Linked DNA regions of Homo sapiens: all the other regions are linked to region 1. Evidence: promoter capture Hi-C in human tissues and cell types (Jung and others, 2019). All regions are on one chromosome and are shown on one strand. The core of a region is centred on a gene start or on the middle of the fragment in contact, and the rest is flanking DNA. Distances in the headings are between cores, read along the strand shown.

Evidence for each region. Contacts are between HindIII fragments. The study calls those that stand out against the background at their distance.
Region 2: a contact is called between a fragment that was not itself captured here and the fragment with the promoter of MTO1 in region 1, in 1 of the 25 tissues and cell types used here (pancreas).
Region 3: a fragment that was not itself captured here is called in contact with the fragment with the promoter of MTO1 in region 1 in 4 of the 25 tissues and cell types used here (aorta, bladder, liver and 1 more).

What each region holds. Positions count from the first base shown.
Region 1 is chr6:73,460,258-73,463,167 of GRCh38, reverse strand. It overlaps MTO1 (mitochondrial tRNA translation optimization 1), which reads right to left and starts at 1,431. Exons shown (of 12, transcript NM_012123.4): 1 at 1,097-1,431. The coding sequence starts at 1,313. RefSeq lists enhancers at 891-940, 961-1,020, 1,091-1,420, 593-1,438 and a silencer at 1,871-1,930. The HindIII fragment of the contact is 26,494 bases long and covers 1-2,910 here.
Region 2 is chr6:73,315,212-73,318,377 of GRCh38, reverse strand. No RefSeq gene overlaps it. Among named protein-coding and RNA genes, the nearest start is that of C6orf147, 6.4 kb to the right of the region's middle. The HindIII fragment of the contact is 5,323 bases long and covers 1-3,166 here.
Region 3 is chr6:73,633,427-73,636,405 of GRCh38, reverse strand. It overlaps SLC17A5 (solute carrier family 17 member 5), which reads left to right. Exons shown (of 11, transcript NM_012434.5): 6 at 906-1,024. Among named protein-coding and RNA genes, the nearest start is that of SLC17A5, 19 kb to the left of the region's middle. The HindIII fragment of the contact is 5,424 bases long and covers 1-2,979 here.

The DNA of each region.
Region 1 (2,910 bases), core at 182-2,681:
CCTGTAATCCCAGCTACTCGGGAGGCTGAGGCAGGAGAATGGCATTAACCCGGAAGGCGGAGCTTGCAGTGAGCCGAGATGGCGCCACTGCACTTGAGCCTGTGTGACAGTGCAAGACTCTGTCTCAAAAGAAAAAAAAAAAAAAAAGGTAGCATGGTTCTTCCAAAAGGCATCACAAAATCTTGACAGAAACACAAAGATCAGGCTGGGCAGAGTACTGAGCACCTGCAATCCCAGCTACTGGTTAGGCAGAGGCAGGAAAAGTTCTTGAGTCCAGAAAGCGGAGCCTGTAATGTGCAACGATCGTGCCTATGAGTAGTCACTGCACTCCAGCCTGGGCAACATGGCGAGACCCTGTCTCTAAAAAAATGTTTTTAAATAAAAACACAAGAACCGTTTAATAAAGGATTTTTTTATTTTATTAATATTATCATTATTTTGAGACGGAGTTTTGCTCTTTTGCCCAGGCTGGAGTGAAGTGGCGCAATCTCGGCTCACTGCAACCTCTGCCCCCGGGTTCAAGCGATTCTCCTGCCTCAGACTCCCGAGTAGCTGGGATTATAGGCGCCCGCCACCATGCCCGGCTAATTTTTGTATTTTTAGTAGAGACGGGGTTTCGCCGTGTTGGCCAAGCTGGTCTCAAACTCCTGACCTCAGGTGATCCACCTGCCTTGGCATCCCAAAGTGCTGGGATTAAAGAAGTGAGCCACTGCACCTGGCCATAAACCATTGTTAATAATGTTAATTCACCCTTTATCTGGAGTAACATAGTAGAAGGTAAACGCAGCAATGAACTAAGAAGCTACCAGCGAGTAGTTGGTAGCTCCCTTTCCCAAGGCACTGACCCCGAACCCCAACCTCCTACAACGGACGACTGTCAGCAGCAGCATAATCTATGGTTCGCAGAATAGACTAATATAGAGTTCTGGCCTGGCCCGCCTGATCCTTGCGAGACACTGATCGAGGCTAAAACCACAGAAGGTAGGATTCTCACTAGCTTTGAGGAAAGGAAGAGGTCCCCCGCTTCAGACCGGGGGAGGCGGGAAGGAAGCAGCCTGCGTCCTACGCCAAGTTCCACAGCACCCGCGCTCCTCACCGATCGTGTCCACGCGGTGAGTGAGGAGCAGAGTCCGAGAGCCGCACCGAGCGGCGGCGGTGGCTGCCTCAGTCCCGGCATGTCCTCCACCAATGACTATCACGTCGAAGTGCGGAGTCCGGGGCGCCGCGCTGTCACTGCTCAACCGTGCCAACGGAAATTGCTGCTTGGTGAAGGAAACCGCGACCCAACGGCCACAGCCTCGGAAGTAGAACATGCTGGGAGAAAAATCTATCTGACTTTGAAGCTGACACGAGTGACGGTCAAAAAAACTTACGCAACAAGAGACAATCTGCAGGGCGCGGCCATCTTGCTTTAATATCACGGGGTAGGACGTCTACGTCCAGCGTCGCCGCTGATTGGCGGTTTGGAGCTACTTTCCTGGTGAGGGAGATGGGTGATCGCACGGAGGGCCGGTTGTGTATTTTCTTTCCTAGTTCGTGCGGGCTTTTTTTATTATTATTATTTTTTATTTTTATTTATTTATTTATTTATTTATTTATTTATTTATTTATTTATTTATTTATTTATTTATTTTGAGACAGAGTCTCGCTCTGTTGCCCAGGCTGGAATGCAGTGGCGCGATTTCGGCTCACTGCAAGCTCCCCCTCCCGGGTTCGCGCCATTCTCCTGCCTTAGCCTCCGAGTAGCTGGGGCTACAGGCGCCCGCCACTACGCCCGGCTAATTTTTTGTATTTTTAGTAGAGACTGGGTTTCACCGTATTAGCCAGGATGTTCTCGATTTCCTGACCTCGTGATCCGCCCGTGCGGGCTTTTTTTGATTTCCTGTGGTTCTGGGTTGGGAGCTCCTACTAAAGGTCATCTTTTGTACTTTCTTAGGCCCTGCAGTCCTTATCGCCAGGTGGCCACCTACGATCAATGAATTTGATCACTTTGCCTTATCAGATCTTTGTGATCTGACAATCTGATACACCGTCACCTTCTGTTTGTCTATAAAAACTAAGGGCTGAAAATAAGAATAGATTCGGGCCGGGCGCGGTGGCTCACGCCTGTATTCCCAGCACTCTGGGAGGCCGAAGCAGGTGGATCACAAGGTCAGGAGATGGAGACCATCCTGGTCAACATGGTGAAACCCCATCGCTACTAAAAAAAAAAAAAAAAAAAAAAAAAAAAAAAATTAGCCGGGAGTGGTGGCATGCACCTGTAATCCCAGCTACTCAGGAGACTGAGGCAGGAGAATCGCTTGAACCTGGGAGGCCGAGGTTGCAGTGAACCAAGATTGTGCCACTGCACTCCAGCCTGGGCGACAGAGCAAGACTCCGTCTCAAAAAAAAAAAAAGAAAAAGAAAAGAAAAAGAATAGATTCGAAAGGAGTTCAAATATATTTGTGGACTGAAAGATTCATGATGGTGCCTGGGCATGGTGGATCACGCCTGTAATCCTAGCACTTTGGAAGGCCGAAGGGGGCAGATTGCCTGAGCTCAGGAGTTCGAGACCAATCTGGGCAACATGGTGAAACCCCGTCTGTACTAAAATACAAAAAAAAAAATTAGCCAGGTGTGGTGGCATGCACCTGTAGTCCCAGCTACTTGGGCGGCTGAGGCAGGAGAATTGCTTGAACCCGTAGGCAGAGGTTGCAGTGAGCCGAGATCGTGCCACTGCACTCCAGCCTGGCGACAAGAGTGAGACTCTGTCTCAAAAAAAAAAAAAAGAGAGAGAGAGATTCATGATGGCTAATTGGTTAATTAGAAGAATCGGTTGGTTGGAGGTTAAATGTCCAGCCTTTTGGAATTCACAGCCTTTCTCAATTCACAGCCTTTCTCAGAAAGGCAACGTTTGACTGGAGAATAAAA
Region 2 (3,166 bases), core at 380-2,879, 140 kb after region 1:
GAAAATGGACTAATACATATACTATAATAAAAGTTACATGAATATGGTCTCTCTCACTCAAAATATCTTATTGTATTGTACATACCTATCTTCTTGTTGACTGTCAGTAACTGAAACTGTGAAAGAGAAACTGCAGATGATGAGGGACTACTATATCAGGATTTAACTTTATCAACTAGAGTACAGTTCTTACGTGCAGGTTTTTTTTTTTTTTTTTTTTTTTTTTTTTTTTTTTTTTTTTGCTTATAGTCTTACCAACTCCATTCACTTCCAAAGTTACTTATGTCAGCACTTTCACCCTGCCCCTTTAAGGGTGTTGTTTAACGTAACTATAATATAGAGTACCCTGTCAGAGTCTGAATTCTCTTTTTTTTTTTTTGAGACAGAGTCTTGCTCTGTCACTAAGGCTGGAGTGCAGTGATGCGATCTCGGCTCACTGCAACCTCTGCCTCCCGGGTTCAAGCAATTCTCCTGCTTCAGCCTCCTGAGTAGCTGGGAATACAGGCGACTGCTACCATGCCCAGATAATTTTTTGGATTTTTAGTAGAGACAGGGTTTCGCTGTGTTAGCCAGGATGGTCTCGATTTCCTGACCTCAGGATCTGCCTGCCTTAGCCTCCCAAAGTGCTGGGATTACAGGCGTGAGCCACTGTGCCTGGCCAGAGTCTGAATTCTTGTCTGGGTTCTCCCAACCTCCTAAATGATTTCTTTTTAATTTGCATACATTGAGGTCCACTTTTTGTGTTATAAAGTTCTATAGTTTGATAAATGCATAATGTCATGTAGCCACCATTAATAATATGATACAGAATAATTTCACTGCCCTAAAAAATCTTGCACTTCACCTATTCATCCTTCCCCTTTTCCCCAAGCCACTAGCAACCACTGATGTTTTTACTATCACTTATATTAGGTTGTATAAAGTACTTTTGCATCAACCTAATATTTTTGCCTTTTCCAGAATGTTATATTGTTGGAATCATACAGTATGTTACCTTTACAGACTGGCTTTTTCCACTTAGCAATATAGGTTCCTCCATGCCTTTCTTTGGCTTGATAGCTTAATTCTTTTCATTGCTGAGTAATATTATATCATATGGATGTATCACAGTTTTAGTTCATTTTTTAGTTGCTCTCTAGTATATTGTATGGCTCTATTTAACTCATTTTCTATGATGGACATGCAGGCTGTTTTCTTTAATTCTTCTTTCGTTCCCCCTCTTTGAGGAAGAAGTATATATACTTCTCTCTCCATTTGTTACATAACCAAGCTTCATATCACAGAAGTGTATGTCTTCTCCTCTGCCATAAGACTGGCATGTCCTAGATGGGGCTGCTACATTCACTGGGTACAAGAGTAAAGACAGCTTACAGATGAGTAATATAAAAGAAAAAGAGACCTTTGTAATTGTAAGCCATTTTGTGGACCTTTGTAACATGCATAACAAAAGAAAAAGCTAGCAAGTACCTCCCCAGTCCTCATTTTTTTTTTTTTTTTTTTTTTGGGGGGGATAGGGCCTCACTCTGTCACCCAGGCTGGAGTTCAGTGGCATGATCTCAGCTCACTGAAGCCTTGAGCTCCCTGGCTCAAGCGATCCTCCTGTCTCAGCCTCCCTCATAGTTGGGACCAAAATCATATGCCACCATGCTCAACTAATTTTTAAAAAAAATTTTAAATTTTTTTTGTAGAGACGGGGTTTCGTCATGTTGCCCAGGTTGGTCTCGAACTCCTGGGCTCAAACCATCTGCCCGCCTCCACCTTTGCTTCCCAAAGTGCTGGGATTACAGGTGTGAGCCACTGTGCCCAGACCCAATCATCATTTCGAACACCATCTCCCCTCATCTTAGCTTTTCTTCTTGTTATTCTTTTGCAAAGCTGGGTCCACAATTCATTCAGTAGGGAGTAATATTGAAAGGATTCCAGTTTCAATTTAATATTTTATTTGGCTTTTGGTTGTCTATTCAAGGTTTATGACAAAATTTGCTAAGTTTTAAATCTGTGCTTACTATTTTTGGGGAGATAAGGAAGGTAATGAATTCTTTGGAGTTACACTGTCCAATACATTAGTTACTAGTCATATTTGGCAATTTAAATTTAACTTACTTAAAATTAAATAAAATTAAAAATTCAATTTCTCATAGCACCAGCCACATTTCAGGAGCTCAACAGCCACATGTGGCTAGTGGCTACCATATTGAACAACACAATTTTATATATATCTCCATCACTGCAGGAACGTCTATTGAACAGCACTGCCTTAGATAGTATGCTGAAAGCTATATATGCATATTTAACGAACAAGCATAGAGTTCATGAAGCTAGCATGGATCTCGGGGTAAATTCCTTGCTCTAATTAGTATGCCTTATGTTGCCTTAGGGTTAGTGTCTGACCTTGAAATAACTGAAAAAAAATATGTCTATAAAACTCTCTGACTGCCCTGAACCTTGGATCCTATACCTATTAATCCATGTAACATCAAGCAACAGTGAGAGGAGAAGAGTCTTTAAAAATATGGTTCAGTGCCTAGAAGTAGCTATTGTAAATGCAAGGTGACAAGGAAGGTACACTAAGAGGAAAGAGGCTTCCTCTATCCTTCCTTACTCACCATTGAGGGAACAGAATAGATTGTGTGTGTGTGCGTGTATAGGGGGCAGTCAGAAAGGAGGCATTTCCAGTGAAACCCTAACATGCAAAATGCCCATACTAGTTTATGCCTAGTACACTCAAATACTACCTCCCCACCTCCATTGTTGCAAGGAAAAAATAATTATATTCCTTTTCAAGTTGGAACACCCAGGCTCACAAAAGTAAATTGTCCAAGATCACACAACTTGTAAATGGCCAAGTCAGGGCTCTAACCAAGGTCCTCCTGGCACTTACTCTTCCACATACTACCTCCCTATCTGTTCCCACGTCCCCGCTCCTCCTAGCAGCTCTGGCGAATTGTGAAGGAGCCATCCAAATTCAGGGCTGTAAGTCAGGAGCTGCAGTGTCCTGCCACTATCTGTAGTTGAGACTCTTGTCTTACAGGTGCCAATTTATTTACTCCTTTACCTAAATCGGTAAGGCTGGTGGGCATCGAATAACCTAAGCGCCGGGGAGTTTTAAAGCCACAGGGATTGGGGCTCGCGCTCCGTCCCGCACAGATCCCATTCCGCTGCTCTG
Region 3 (2,979 bases), core at 400-2,899, 170 kb before region 1:
TGATCCTGTACTTAAATAGTACATTTGCTATCAAAAAATCACTATCTTAGGTATTTTGAATTTCTTCTCAAGCAAAGTAGGATGTTCTCACTTGGTAGTTTTAATGTTTTTTTTTTTTTTTTCTTTTTACTTAGTCCCAAGGCATTTTATTGCTCAATTTCCTTGGCAGCATGATACACATTTTTAATAAATTAGATTTTCACATAGACATGTCATGCAAGAAATATATCTGCAATCAAAATTTAAAACTCAACTAACAAAAACAGACACCTTTGGAAATATGTAGATTGTGGAAATGTATCTTCAAAAAGATTTGTCTGGTAGACCCTGATAGGCAAAGTCATGTGGTTAAAAGTTGTTTTCTTCTGGCTGGGTGCAGTGGCTCACACCTGTAATCCCAGCACTTTGGGAGGCCGAGGCGGGTGGATCACGAGGTCAGGAGTTCAAGACCAGCCTGGCCAACATGGTGGAACCCCATCTCTACTCAAAATACAAAAATTAGCCAGGCGTGGTGGCACGTGCCTGTAGTCCCAGCTACTCAGGAGGCTGAGACAGTAGAGTTGCTTGAACCCAGCAGGCGGAGGTTGCAGTGAGCCGAGATCACGTCACTGCACTCCAGCCTGTGAGACAGAGCAAGACTCTATCTCAAAAAAAAAAAAAAAAGTTGTTTTCTTCAAAATGTATAAGCAATAATACAGTTATAGCAATTATCCCATTAAAGAATTGAGAGAAACTTGAAATTGAATCCAAACTGAAGTCAGTTTTACATTGAATTTATAGTTACATAATTTTTTCAAGACATGTAAAAATTGTTGTTGGTGCTTTCTAATTTTGTGTTTTTGTTTTGTTTTGTTTGTTATTTGGTACATTCTAATTTTATCTAACTATTATTTTTCTATTTTAAGGTACTATTGGAATATTTTGGTTTCTTTTGTGGATCTGGTTAGTTAGTGACACACCACAAAAACACAAGAGAATTTCCCATTATGAAAAGGAATACATTCTTTCATCATTAAGAAATCAGGTATGGACTTTGACACATTTTAAAAATAATGTCAGAAACTTTTTTTCTTCAGAATTAAGATATCAGTTTTTAAAAATATATATTCCTATTGTGCATGCTCTAGACAAAGTAGAATAGGCAAATGAAATGAACATCCAAAGTATTGTCTGGCTGGGTGCAGTGGCTCACACTTGTAATCCCAGTCCTTTGGGGAGGTCTAGGTGGGAGGATCATTTGAGGTCAGGAGACTAGCCTAGTCAACATAGTGAGACCCTTTCTCTACAAAACATTTAAAATATTTAAAAAAAAATTTTAAATACATAAATATGAACAAAGTATTGTCTGAAGAATTTCAGTTCTTTCATTTTTTATAGAAAGTATAGTTTTATAAACTATAAAAAATATTTTTAAGTCATTTTAAAACCTTTTAGTGTAGTGATTATCAAATGAGTCTTAAGTTTGTTTTTTCCACTTGATTAGTAGAAAATAAAATGTGTTATTCATGAAAGGATTCTCATTCTGACCATTAGTTGTTAGAAAACCAACTAGTGTGTTTATACAGTTGTACATCCCAAATCTGAAAATTCTAAATCCAAAATACTCTGAAATCCAAAAGTTTTTGAGAACCCACATGATGCTCAAAGGAAATGCTCATTGGAGCATTTCAGAGTTCAGATTTTTGGATTTTAAGATTTAGGATGCTTGGCCAGCCTGATGGCTCACTCCTGTAATCCCAGCACTTTGGGAGGCTGAGGCAGGCGGATCGCCTGAGGTCAGGAGTTCGAGATCAGCCCGGCCAACATGACAAAACCCCATCTCTGCTAAAAATACAAAAATTAGCTGGGCATGGTGGCACACACCTGTAGTCCCAGCTACTCGGGAGGCTGAGACAGGAGAATTCCTTGAACCCAGGAGGCAGAGGTTGCAGTGAGCTGAGATCGTGCCACTGCACTCCAGCCTGGGTGACAGAGCAAGACTCCATCTCGAAAAGAAAAACAAGATTTAGGATGCTTAATTGGGAAGGTACGTGATACAAATATTCTAAAATCCAGAATCCAAAACACTTCTGGTTCCAAGCATTTCAGACAAGGGATATTGGACCTGTATCTATATTTTAAATGAGTGTCATTAAAGAAAGAGAACAGCACATTTATTATGATATAATATTATAATATGATATACATCTGTTTGCTCTTCTAGAGTAGGTCTTTAGAAAAAAGTTTATATCTTATTAAAACCAGATTTCAATCACTTAATCGAGCACAAAGGCAAATCACAAATAAAAATCTATAATAATTCAATATACTAAATTCTCAAACCATGGAAACAAAATGTTTGCCTTTTGAGTAGAATAAAAGAAGAACATAAAAACATTAGGAAAGATTAAAATATACACAGTTTGTTTTCAGCATTCTTGTTGGCTTCAAAGTCACTTTATTAGTTTAAGAACATAAAATATTTAAGACTTTTCCTATTAAATTGTCATGATTGATATTTTATTTTATTTTATTTATTTTTTTTTTTAGACGGAGTTTCGCTCTCTCACCCAGGCTGGAGTGTAGTGGCACAATCTCAGCTCACTGCAACCTCTATCTCCCTGGTTCAAGCAATTCTCCTGCCTCAGCCTCCTGAGTTGCTGGGATTACAGGTGCATGCCACCACTCCCAGCTAATTTTTTGTATTTTTAGTAGAGACGGGATTTCACCTTATTGGCCAGGCTGGTCTCGAACTCCTGGCCTCAAGCGATCCTCCCACCTTGGCCTCCCAAAGTGCTGGGATTACAGGCATGAACCACTGTGCCTAGCCCAAGATTGATATTTTAAATATTTATATACAATATAACCAGGCAGTAAAATTAAAAACTTAGTCTTGGCTGGGCATGGTGATTTACGCCTGTAATCCCAGCACTTTGGGAGGCTAAGGCAGGCAGTTTTCTTGAGCCCTGGAGTTCAAGACCAGCCTGGACAACATAGCGA